3 separate regions of the Homo sapiens genome follow, and all the other regions are linked to region 3. Evidence: promoter capture Hi-C in human tissues and cell types (Jung and others, 2019). All regions are on one chromosome and are shown on one strand. The core of a region is centred on a gene start or on the middle of the fragment in contact, and the rest is flanking DNA. Distances in the headings are between cores, read along the strand shown. Region 1 overlaps TRIM71 (tripartite motif containing 71). Region 2 overlaps TRIM71 (tripartite motif containing 71). Region 3 holds the start of TRIM71 (tripartite motif containing 71).

Region 1 (4,165 bases), core at 153-2,652, 44 kb after region 3:
TGCAGGAGTTTGAGACCAGCCTGGCCAACATGCTGAAACCCCATCTCTACTGAAAATTCAAAAATTAGCCAGGTGTTGTGGCACGTGCCTGTAGTCCCAGCTACTCTGGAGGCTGAGGCAGGAGAATCGCTTGATCCCGGGAGGCAGAGGTTGCAGTGAGTTGAGATCGTGTCATTGTACTCCAGCCAGAGCAAGACTGTCTCAATAAAATAAAGTAAATAATCTTTTTTTTTTTCTTGAGATGGAGTCTCTGTTGCCCAGGCCAGAGTGCAGTGGCACGATCTCGGCTCACTGCAACCTCCGCCTCCAGGTTCAAGCAATTCTCCTGCCTCAGCCTCCTGAGTAGCTGGGATTACAGGCATGCTTCACAATGTTGGCCAGGCTGGTCTCGAACTCCTGGCCTCAGGTGATCCACCTACCTTGGCCTCCCAAAGTGCTGGGATTACAGGCATGAGCCACCGTGCCCAGCCAATAAATAAATAAATTGTTGGCCAGGCGCGGTGGCTCACGCCTGTAATCCAAACACCTCGGCAGGCCAAGGTGGGAGGAACACTCCGGAGTTCAAGACCAGCCTGGGCAACAAAGTGAGTTCCTGTCTCTACAAAAAAATAAAAATCATTTTCTTTATAAGACTAAGCATCCCTCTTTCACCTGCTTTTGCACTGAAGATGTTTGCTCTGCTCTCGCTCATTTTGCCTTTTACTTACAGAGAAAGATGTCAAGAAAGGCTCTTGTAATTGCTGGAATGTCGGGGGGAAGATGAGGTACTGGGAGAGTGTGTCTGGCTTCTCTCTTTAATACTCTCCTTGACAGGTGCAGTTTTGGGGAATGCCATAGAAGAGCCCAGACTTGGGACTTGGAGACAAATCTCCGTAATTCACAGACATGCCCCAGCACCCACTCTTCCACACCCCCACACCCCACCTGAGCCTCGGCAATCCCAGTGCAGCACGGGTACTTCTTGGCATTCAGAGAATTCACAGAGGCCACGTGTGTGCTATCCACTGCTTCCCAGGATTGGTCACTTCCCAATTTAAAATAATTACTGCCTGTGAACAACTCTGTATTAAAACAAAATTTCTATAGTAATATCTTAACTGCTTGATTTTTGGGGGAGGAGGGGAGCAGGTGGGAGGCATTGCCTAGAAAGGTAACTGGCTCTAGGCCTTATCAACCAATAGGACAGTGTAACCTTGATTCACTAACCCTAATCAAGACAGAAGGCAACTAAGTAATGCAGGGGACAAGGACACAAGATGATGGAACTTGCAGAGAGGAGGGAAGTGCTCGGTTGTGTTAAAGGTAGAAAATGTGACTAGTAATATTTACTAACAGTTTTTATTACTAGTGTATTCTCATCTGAGTCTGTATTTCTGCTTCTCTTCTCAGGACAGTTTTACCCAGGTGATGAGTGCCTTCCCTTGCTTTAAAAAATTCTGCCTTTCTACACCATCTCAGCCACATGGGTGATTGAAACCTACTTGGCTTCTTTAGGAACTGAAAGGGTTTCAGGTGTACACTGTTGCCCGCTGTTTAAGAGGCGAGGACTGAGTTACATGGCCACCTACAGAGTCTGACCATTTTTTAAATGTCAGCCCCAAAGTACCACTGACTCTTGTCCATAGCACAACAGATTAAAACCTTGCCTTGCTTTTGCAACCTTGGAGGCAGCTGGAAAACTTGTGTGTCTACGTCCAAATCTGTCTTTCGTGTCCAGTTTAAAAATATATAATTTACATGGGCAGTGATCTCAGTGTTGGAACAAATCTCTTTTATTTGCTGCTGGAAGCTGCATGGGCCACTCATTAATACATCAGAGGTCAGATGCATGCCGGGGCGGCAGCTGGGACACTAATGATTTCATATGGCTTTGTATGACCGCTGGCCGCCTGTGGTGCTGTAAATCGGGACTCAGGGTTCTAATTTTTTCAAAACCTCCAGGGAGGTTGCCTCTTGCGAGATATAACTTAAGATAATATTTATAGTAGAGGGCAGAGGAAAAATAATACCTAATGGGAACATTGTGGAAAAAATGGTAGCAACCTATTAGAAGTAAATTATGTGGGGCCATTGGAGTTAACTCATTTATGGGCTCCATGAGTATTTTATTAGGTCCTTAGCTATGAAGAGTGCTGCGCTGTGGCCAAGCTCCAAGCATCACCCCCTCAACAACTTAGGTTGTCAGTGGAAGGATTCTCCCCTCACTTTTGGGAGGGAGGAGTATTAATTGAACCTTTTTTTTTTTTTTTTTTTTTTTTTTGGAGCTGGTCTTGCTGTGTCTGGCTTGAGCCAGGCTGACTGCGGTGGTGCATACATGGCTCACAGCAGCCTCGAACTCTTGGGCTCATCAAGCCATCCTTCTGCCTCAGCTGTGACTATAGGCATGCCCCACCATGCTTGGTTAATTTTTAATTCTTTTGTAGAGACAGGGTCTTTGTTGGCCGGGCTAAGTGTACATTTTGACTTTTGATGATTTATATATACCTGTGTAATCAATCCTCGCATCAAGATATAGATTTTCTCTAATTCCAGAAGGATTCCCTTGGGGTCCCTCTAGTTCACCCTCGTTCTCACCTGCAACTACTGTTGTTTTCTTCCACGTTGAGTTTTATCTTCATATATTAATAAATGGAGTTATGCAATATATTCTCTTGATTTTAGCTTTTTCACCAGTCTTAGTGCCTTTAAGCTTCTTGTATGTAGGTATATTTATTTATTTGTTTTTGTTTTTGTTTTTTTGAGACGGAGTCTCCTCTGTCACCCAGGCTGGAGTGCAGTGGTGAGATCTTGGCTCACTGCAGCCTCTGCCTCCCGGGTTCAAGCAATTCTCCTGCCTCAGCTTCTTGAGTAGCTGGAACCACAGGTGCCCACCACCAGGCCTGGCTAACTTTTGTATTTTTAGTAGAGATGGGGTTTCACTATGTTGGCCAGGCTGGTCTCAAACTCCTGACTAAAAATGGTCCACCCGCCTCGGCCTCTCAAAAGTGCTGGGATTACAGGCATGAGCCACCACGCCTGAACTTCTTGTGTGTAGTTACTGACAAACATCCTGTTGTGTGTATGTACCACGGTGTATGTTGATGTGGAAGTTTTGTTTTTACTTTTAAACATCCAAGACTGATTGATTGAGGCAGGGTTTCTGTTGCCCAAGCTGGAGTGCAGTGGAATGATCATAACTTGCTGTAACTTTGATGTAACTTTGAACTCCTTGGGCTCAAGCAATCCTCCCACCTCAGCCTTCTGAGTAGCTATCAAGTTTTTATTTGTTCAAAACTATATTTGGGAGGCAGTAATCCAAAACACAACTCTGGCATTTTCTAAGCTGTCACTGAGTATTGTGTAGTGTAACTTGGATCTGTTAGAGGACACCCCAAGCACAGGTGTGGCACTCTTAGGAAGATGCCCTTTTATTGCAGAGCCTTCAGGAAATGTGTGAGAAACTGAAGGTGGTGGGCTGGTGGGCCATGAGTTTGCCTCAAGCTGTGTGGGGTGGGTGAAGATAACAAGGTGCCAGCCCAAAAAGCAGATTCTGATCTGGGAGTCAAGTAAGTCCAAAGGGCCTAGGGAGCTGGTGCCCGCTGGGTTCGCCAGAGGCAGAGTGTGGAGGACGTGTTGTTTATTCGAGATCCCCTGCTTTGAAAGGCAGGATGCAGGATGTCAACAGGGTCCTGACACCCCAGTGCCCCCAGGGGCAGAGCATGAGTGTCTGCCGTCTGCCCTCAGGGCTCAGGCTCAGGTCCGGTGTAGAGTGGATAGTCTGGGTAAAGGAAATGTCAGGCATAGCTACATTCCCCAGTATGCATCCCTCTTCCCCCACTTGGCATGTGTGTTGTCCCCCAGTTGGTATTTTGCAACATCATGATTATACTTTTAAAAATTAAGTGGTGTGTGTGTGTGTGTGTGTGTGTGTGTGTGTGTGTGTGTGTGTGTGTTCACAAAGGTCTGGAGAAGTGCTAATTTTAGCTCAACATGGGGGGTGCCTGTCATTTTCCCTGCCGGAATCCCCTCCTCTCCTTTTACCTCGACCTCTGCCCCTTATGGTTCACCTGGAGGATTGCTCCTGCCCTGTAAAACTCACTGTAGCAGGGCCAGGCGCAGTGGCTCACGCCTGTAATTCCAGCACTTTGGGAGGCCGAGGCAGTCGGATCATGAGGTCAGGAGATTG
Region 2 (4,137 bases), core at 900-3,399, 64 kb after region 3:
GCTCAGGAATTCTATACCAGCCTGAGCAACATAGTGAGATCTTGTCTCTACAAAAAATGAAGAAGGTTAGCCAGACCTCATGTTGCGTGTCTGTAGTCCCAGCTACTCGGGAGGATTGCTTGAGGCCTGGAGGTTGAGGTTGCAGTGAGCCAAGATTACACCACTGCACTCCAGCCTGGGCGACAGAGCAAGACTCTGTCTCAAAAAAGAAAATGTGGGTTTTTCTTTTATTTTCTTTTTTATCTATGAAGTGCAATAAAATGAGGTATGGCTATAGTTTGTGATTATATTTTTTATTATTTTTATTTTTGAGACAGTCTGGCTGTGTCGCCCAGGCTGGAACGCAGTGACAGATCTTGGCTCACTGCAACCTCTGCCTCCCTGGTTCAAGTGAGGAGCTGGGATTACCGGCCTGTACCACCACGCCTGGCTAATTTTTGTGTTTTTAGTAGAGATGGGGTTTCACCATGTTGCCCAGGCTGGTCTTCTCAAACTCATGGTGTCAAGTGATCTATCCGCTTCCACCTCCCAAAATGCTGGGATTACAGGCTTGAGCCACTGCACCCAGCCTCATCCATTTATTTTTAAGATCAGTTTGTGTGATTGTTGTAACCATCTAATAAATCATTTCCAGATGAGGAGGATATGTATACTGAAAGTATATTTCCCCATTGAATGTCTGGTATTAAATTGCAGATGTCAGATGTTCAGTTAACTGTGAATCAGAGTTCCTAACTTATGACTTTAAAGAGACTCACAACTTGTCCTGAGAGTCTTGGTTCTGGAAAGAGCTCCAGATACAAATCCTTGAGTTAATTCTGGATTGTCCTATAAAGAGAATCTACCCTGGTGAGTGTCTAGAGTTGGCCATAACAAGAACAGCATGGAAGATGTAGCACCTCATCACTGTTGTAGGGCATTTAGGGGGCAACCACTCATTTTTATTGCTTTTTTGAACATTCTGTTACTTTCACTTTGCTGCTTTTCTTGAATATATGACATTTTGGTCATGTATGTTATTAGAGGATTCCACAAGGTAAACTGATTTGCTGGGGATAGCGATAAACAGGATCAGGAATAGTTGGTTTCTACATAAGAAAGTTTTGATTCTTCAATTACTATATTTCATCACATTTAAGATGCCATTAATTGTAAGGTGTACATTTATTTTACATACAACTAACAAAGGAAGAAACCCACGGACAATTTAGAGATGAATTATAGATTCAGAGAAAGATGTGATGAAAATTTTATATATGTATATATATATATTTTTTTGAGGTGGAGTCTCACTCTGTTGCCCAGGCTGGAGTTCAGTGCCACGATTTTGGCTCACTGCAACTTCTGCCTCCCGGGTTCAAGTGATTTTCCTGCCTCAGCCTCCTGAGTAGTTGGGATTACAGGTACCCGTCACCACACCTGGCTAATTTTGGTATCTTCAGTAGAGACGGGGTTTCACCATGTTGGCCAGGCTAGTCTCAACTCCTGACCTCAGGCAGTCCACCTGCCTCAGCCTCCCAAGAGTGTTGGGATTACAGGCATGAGCCACTGCGCCTGGCCAAAAATTACATTTTAGAGTGCACCACAGTAGCTCCGCATACCCAGTATGGTCGCCTACAAGTGTATGGGTGATGATTGCATTCTCTTACCTTCTGACCGTTGGGCTCTTTAAATACCACTGTTCTCCACAGTTGGCATCACTGATCGATATCTATATTCTTTCCCTTGAGAGCCAGATTTGGCCCAAGTCTCCACCATGCTGACTGACTGCCACTCAGTAGTCAGCTGGAAAGTGCACTGATTTGCCAGTCCAAATGTAGACCCTCAACTTTTAAATGTTTAATTAGATCTGTTAACATCCCAAAGATGGTTAAATTTTCTCTCAAGCACCATGCTTGTTGGGTGATTTCTCTTTTCTTACTGTGAAATGTATATATCTGTTTTGGAAGTTTACCCAGCCTTTCTACATTGTCATTTCCCCCAACCTATCTGCCCTGTATGTCCTTCAGATGCCCTGCTGTTAGAGGTTGGGAACTAGTTCAATAAGTCCTGGTCTGCACATCTTGGAATGCCATGCTTGGCTGGGTCGTGCGTAATTTGGAAGGGAAAGACCTATTTTTCCACTATGCATTGGGTAGGGCTTTTGTGACTCTCAGCCCAAGGAATATCTTTGCATGCTTGCTGATTATTAAAATTGCAACAAAAGCTTTGAATCCCCCTTTGAACCTGTTTGAAAAATGGAAGAAGCAATTTTTGTCATAAAATGTGAGTTCCAGACATGAGGGATAAGCGATAAGCCTGGCTAGGAGACTAGGGGAAGAGGTGAGTAGGGTAGTACACCCATTCCTATGCAAAGGGAGTGGTGTTTTTGTTTTTTTATTTTTTGAGACAGAGTTTTGCTCTTGTAGCCCAGGCTGGGTCTTTTTTTTTCTTCTAACATATGATAGAAGTTAGATGTAAAAAAATCAATTTGGCAAGTAGTATGACATTAATATTAATAGAAAGCAGTTTGCCACCTCTGCTTTCTATTGAGGAAGGATTAAGAAATGTTACAGACATAGGTTTGGTTGCCTTGGTGAAATATTAGCTTGGACACCAGTTGTGCTAATTAATAACCAACACATCTAAAAATATAGAGGGTGCCGGTTACTAAGTTCTACTCTTTGGGCTCTAACCCTGTCACACTCTTGCCATGTGACACTGGGGCTGTGACTCTTCAAACTACATGTATGGGAAAAGGACTTCTTCCCTTTTTCTTCCAATTCATATTACTTATATTATTATCATATTATATATTTGTTTTGAGACAGAGTCTTGCTCTGTCACCCAGGCTGGGGGGCGCGGTGGTGCAGTCACAGCTTGCTGCAGCTTCGATCTCCCAAGACTCAAGCAATCCTTCCAGCTCAGCCTCCCAAGTAGATGGGACTATACACAAGCGCCACCATGCCTGGCTAATTTATTTTTTTGTAGAGACGGGGTCTCACTCTTGGCCAGGCTGATCTCAAACTCGTGGGCTTAAGCTATCCTCCTGCCTCTGCCTCCCAGAGTGCTGGGATTACAGGTGTGAGCCACCGTACCCGGCCCCAATTTTTAATAGCAATTCTTTTTCACCCTGACAGCAGAAGTTGGTTTCAATTTCAGATCTTGCCACTCTCAGAATTAGCTGGATGTAACCTCACCATCTTATTCTGGGTTCTTGTAACCACAGCTTTCTTTCCTTTGTTCTCTCAGACAAAGCAGAAGAAGCTGCTTCTGCAGGTACTCTCTGCCTCAGTGTGCTCTTTGCCCCAGCAGTTCTCCCATACCTGTTTAACCATTTCCCTATGCTAAATTCTGTTTAAATGTCTAGGGAGCTCTCTTGCTCTCTCTCGCTTTCTCTCTTTTTCCCTGGATGAATCCTGACAGCGTGAGATACTAAAAATGTATCAATGCTATTATGATACCTGCTTATATGCATGCTCATTTGCTTGGCCATTCTGATTTTTTAACTTTTAGGTAATGTGGATGTAATATCTGTCTGCTTCACTTTATTGGCTTCTGTATTAGTTTATCGGGTCTGTTGTAACAATTTACCATAAACTGGATTACTTAAAACAGCAGGCCAGAAGGCCAAGATCAAGGTGTCGGGACCATGCTCCCTCTGAAGGCCCTCAGGAAGACTCATTGCTTTCCTCATCCTGGCTTTTGGCAGTTGCCAGCATCCTTGGCTTGTACCTGCATCAGTTTCCGTTTCTGCTTTGGTCTTCACGTGGCTTTGTTCTCTGTATCTGTGTCTGCACATGACCCTCTGTGAACATCAGTTTTGGGATTTAAGATTCAACTTAATCTACTATAACCTCATCTTAGCTAATTATATCTACAAAGACCCTATTTCCACACAAGGTCACATCCTGGCCCACATTTAGTTGAGCCTGATGTTTGGAGGGACAATATTTAACCCAACACAGCTACCTAGTGCTTTGGTAAACATGGTTATGGCTAGAGATGTGCAAATATAAAATTTATAGATTGTTCTGCTAATTGTTCTGCTAAATCCCAGGTGGCTTAAGTATCATGGGCTTTGTACTTAGCTCCTGCTTTGATATGTAATGGTACTTGAGACAGGATTGTAAAGGTGGAGCAGAAACATTACAGAAA
Region 3 (4,242 bases), core at 447-2,946:
TCTCGGTTGAGCCAGGGATTCAGAATGAAATCTTTTCTTTTCTTTTTTAAATAAACGGAAGAGTCGTTCTCTGCTCCTCGCTCAGAAGGTTTCAAAGGTCGTCACACTGAAGCCCGGGGGCGTTCATCTCCCCAGCGGCCGGGAGAAGGGAGGAGGTTGGAGGGCGGAGGGAGGGAGCACACAAAAGCGGGCCGTGCTGAGAGGGCTAATGTTTCCTGTTTGCCTGGAGCCCCCTCCCCTGCCTCCCCTCCCCCAGCCCCCTCCCAGCACTCGGGCGGAAGTGAGTTTGCTCCTTTGGAGATTAAAAGGATTCCGAATTCCGATCAGTCCCAATAACCGGCGTACTGAAGAGAAGAGGAGGAGGAGGAGGAGGCAGAGGCGGCAAAGCAGAGAAAGAGGGGGCGCGCGCGCGCGCACGCAACCCGAACTGGGGGAGTTGTGCAAAGCCCCAGGAGGCCGGGGCACGGCGGGAGCAAAGCTCGGTAGGCGCAGCGCGGCCGAGGCCACCCGCGTCCGGATCGGCGACTCCTTTCAGAAAGAAGATGACGCGGGCGCGAGCCGGCGGCGTTGGCCACGCGGCTCCCGAGCTCGCCGCGCGGGGCTGTTGCCGGTTCCACTGATTCCAGCGCGCCCGAGAGGAGCCTCCATCCCCGAGGCTCGGGATCGGAGGGGGGACCAAGGCGAGGGCGAAATGGCCCGATGACAAAGGAAATGTGATCCCCCTTCTCTGCCAAGGTTTCAGAGAGGACGGACGTGAGGAGGAGGAGGGGCGCAGGGCGCGCGCGGAGCTCGGATAGCATTGCACGACGGCCCGCGCGGAGCGGGTACATCTAATATCTTCCTGCCGATGAATAATTCAGGGCGGCCCGCGGGGACCTGCGGCCCCGCGCGCTAAGCCGAAGGGGAAGGAGCGTGCGTGAGGCGCCCAGGCCAGGCGAGGCGGGGGCACGAGGGCTCCGGGCCGCGTGGGGCGCGCGTGCGTGTTAAGCGCGGGCAGCCGCGGCCCGGCTGGGCAGGCGCGCGGAAGACTCGAGGCGCGTGGGACGCGCGTGCGTACTGCACGCGTGCGGCCGCGGCTGGGCCACCACGAGCTGCAGCTGCTGCGGGGCCCACCGCCCTGCAGGGGAGGCCGTGCCTGGCTGTGCGCAAGCCCCAAGCGCAGCACGCCGGGCCACCCAGGAGCCCCTGGCCGCCGCGTCATGCGGCGGGGCAGCCGACGTCGCGCGGGGAGACACCGGCTTGGCGACGCACCGCTCCCGCCTTTACTAGTTTGGGGCTCCTTCCCCTCCCAAGAACAGACTAAATCCGTTTAAAGAAAAGCAACGCACCAAATACTCGTGGAACCAAATTCTGCTCTCGCCGGGACTGGGACTGCACAGCGAACTCTCCTTTTGGGAACTCCTTTCGTCTATCGCGAAGGGAAGCCTCAGCTGCTCCAGGGAGTCTTCCGACCTCCCTGCCCCCGCTCGCCCCTCGCCTGTCGGGGCTTGTTCCGGCGTTCCCTCTTCGGAAGGCACGCGGCCCCCAAGTTATCCGGAGGAATCTGTGTCGCCGCTGGATAGTGGCATTTAATGCCTGCAGTGTCGGGGGTGGCAGCGCTCGGGCCGGACGTGGCGAGGCCAAGCGGGCAGCGCTGCTCTGGTGCCGGCTCCCGGATTGCAGGCCTAATCGATGCATTTTTCTGAGTGAGTCGGTGACTCCCCCACCCACCTCGTCCGCTCTCTCCTCCTCCTCCTCCTCTTCCTCTCTGGTCTCCTCCCTCCTCCGGGCTGGGTTGCAAATGGCTTCGTTCCCCGAGACCGATTTCCAGATCTGCTTGCTGTGCAAGGAGATGTGCGGCTCGCCGGCGCCGCTCTCCTCCAACTCGTCCGCGTCGTCGTCCTCCTCGCAGACGTCCACGTCGTCGGGGGGCGGCGGCGGGGGCCCTGGGGCGGCGGCGCGCCGCCTACACGTCCTGCCCTGCCTGCACGCCTTCTGCCGCCCCTGCCTCGAGGCGCACCGGCTGCCGGCGGCGGGCGGCGGCGCGGCGGGAGAGCCGCTCAAGCTGCGCTGCCCCGTGTGCGACCAGAAAGTAGTGCTAGCCGAGGCGGCGGGTATGGACGCGCTGCCTTCGTCCGCCTTCCTGCTTAGCAACCTGCTCGACGCGGTGGTGGCCACTGCCGACGAGCCGCCGCCCAAGAACGGGCGCGCCGGCGCTCCGGCGGGAGCGGGCGGCCACAGCAACCACCGGCACCACGCTCACCACGCGCACCCGCGCGCGTCCGCCTCCGCGCCGCCACTCCCGCAGGCGCCGCAGCCGCCCGCGCCTTCCCGCTCGGCACCCGGCGGCCCTGCCGCTTCCCCGTCGGCGCTGCTGCTCCGCCGTCCTCACGGCTGCAGCTCGTGCGATGAGGGCAACGCAGCTTCTTCGCGCTGCCTCGACTGCCAGGAGCACCTGTGCGACAACTGCGTCCGAGCGCACCAGCGCGTGCGCCTCACCAAGGACCACTACATCGAGCGCGGCCCGCCGGGTCCCGGTGCCGCAGCAGCGGCGCAGCAGCTCGGGCTCGGGCCGCCCTTTCCCGGCCCGCCCTTCTCCATCCTCTCAGTGTTTCCCGAGCGCCTCGGCTTCTGCCAGCACCACGACGACGAGGTGAGTGCGTGGGGGCGTGTGTTTGTGTCCATCGGATAACTGCGTGTGTGCTCAACAGCGTTTCCCGGCCGGTCCCACAGCGAGGGGAGGAGGCCCTCTCCGGATTTGGTTTGTATTTCCTTTGGCTACGTGGCAGTCCTTGCTACCAAAGTAGATCATGACCTGGGAAGTATGTGGAAGTGGATTCTGTGTACGTGTCGCGAGGGGCTCCGAAAAATCCCATAGCGTGGGGTCCTCCCTTTTCTGATTTTAATTTCTGTGTGGCAAAACGCGGCAATCGTCTTGAGTTAGGCGTGAGTTGGGAGGAGATAGGTGTGTGTGTTTGTGTAGACGTGGCCTGCTCCTGCTCTTGTGGGCACACCAGAGGCCTCCCAACGTGCTGAGAAGGCGCTCCTTTATTTTCAGATTTTTGTTTGGAAAACTCATAGATTGTTGCCTTTAAAATGGGGCGTGAGCCCGGAAGAGATGGTTGTGTGGGTGAGTGCGTGGAGTTTGTGTGCCTCCGTAGACCTGGTTTCCACGTGCGCACTTGTGAGGGGAAGACTGGTTTTTTTGTTGTTGGGACAGCATGGCAGTCCTTGCCTCCTTATGTTGGGTAAGAGTGGGAGCGTCTGTGGATCTTTGAGGGCCAAGGGCCCCCAGTCTTAAGCCCTTCTCTCTCTGCGGCTGCTTCCTATATTGTTTAAAATGCGTGTTCTGGCCCCTGAATTCTCCTAGCGTGAAATCGCCGTTCGTGGGCCCACGGCTGCACCCCGAGATAGAAGCGGAATAAAGGGACGACGTTACCTTCACCAGCCTGAGTCTCTTGGGCCGCGCCCGCCTGCCCCGACTCCAAGCCCTACAGGAACCGGTTTCCCTGGTTAGGAGGTATCCACCCGGCTCAACCAGGGTCTCGACTTCCTTGGAAAAGACCAAGGCAGCCGTACGCTGCTGGAACGCCGGAGTGCAAAGGCTTTTAGGGCTACATTGCAACCCTCGGGCTCGATTTCGCCCTTTGGGCTGTCGAGTAAACATTTGCTTTTCACACAGTGTGACCCCTTTCTCCTTTCCACTTTGGTATTATGCGAGTGTCGTCTTCTCCCCCGAACCCAATGAAGGCAGGCCAAAAGTCTTGAGAAGCGGGCTCTTGCCGAGGGGGTCGGTAACTTAGGCGATCTACCTGTAGACCGGTAAGAGAGGGTGTGGGTGAAAGTCTTGACTTAGAGCGTAAGCTGGAGACTGCAGAGGCTTTAAAAGCCATAGTGGGGGTCGTGGCCTGTGTGAGCTGGAGAGTGGGTACCGAGCACCGCAAAGGTGAGCCCAGCGCCGCTGCCTTTTCCACTCCTAACCTGTTATTTGGGGAGGAGGGCGGAGCTATTGCCTGATGGCCTTTAGCTGGCTTCTCCTGTTGGAAAAAAGTTGAAATTCTAATCTACTTGTTGTAGGCATCTCCTTTTAAAAGGTTTCTTCTAGGTAAGAAGCTAGGGGGCAGTTATCTTTTTTTTCCGTTTTTAAACTTTGAATGGACTCCTAGTTTTAATATACTGTGGGTTCATGTTCTTTCATCACTTTTAGAAAAATGAGTGATTGAGGTAAATACCGATCCAAATCCCAGGAACAGAAAAATGGAG

Evidence for each region. Contacts are between HindIII fragments. The study calls those that stand out against the background at their distance.
Region 1: a contact is called between a fragment that was not itself captured here and the fragment with the promoter of TRIM71 in region 3, in 1 of the 25 tissues and cell types used here (ovary).
Region 2: a fragment that was not itself captured here is called in contact with the fragment with the promoter of TRIM71 in region 3 in 1 of the 25 tissues and cell types used here (bladder).

What each region holds. Positions count from the first base shown.
Region 1 is chr3:32,860,962-32,865,126 of GRCh38, forward strand. All of the region lies in intron 1 of TRIM71 (tripartite motif containing 71), which reads left to right. Among named protein-coding and RNA genes, the nearest start is that of TRIM71, 45 kb to the left of the region's middle. RefSeq lists enhancers at 1-458, 3,103-3,867. The HindIII fragment of the contact is 7,233 bases long and covers 1-4,165 here.
Region 2 is chr3:32,879,759-32,883,895 of GRCh38, forward strand. The region is part of intron 2 of TRIM71 (tripartite motif containing 71); the gene reads left to right. Among named protein-coding and RNA genes, the nearest start is that of TRIM71, 64 kb to the left of the region's middle. The HindIII fragment of the contact is 5,549 bases long and covers 1-4,137 here.
Region 3 is chr3:32,816,301-32,820,542 of GRCh38, forward strand. TRIM71 (tripartite motif containing 71) reads left to right here and starts at 1,697. Exons shown (of 4, transcript NM_001039111.3): 1 at 1,697-2,632. The coding sequence starts at 1,781. RefSeq lists an enhancer at 2,157-2,738. The HindIII fragment of the contact is 18,479 bases long and covers 1-4,242 here.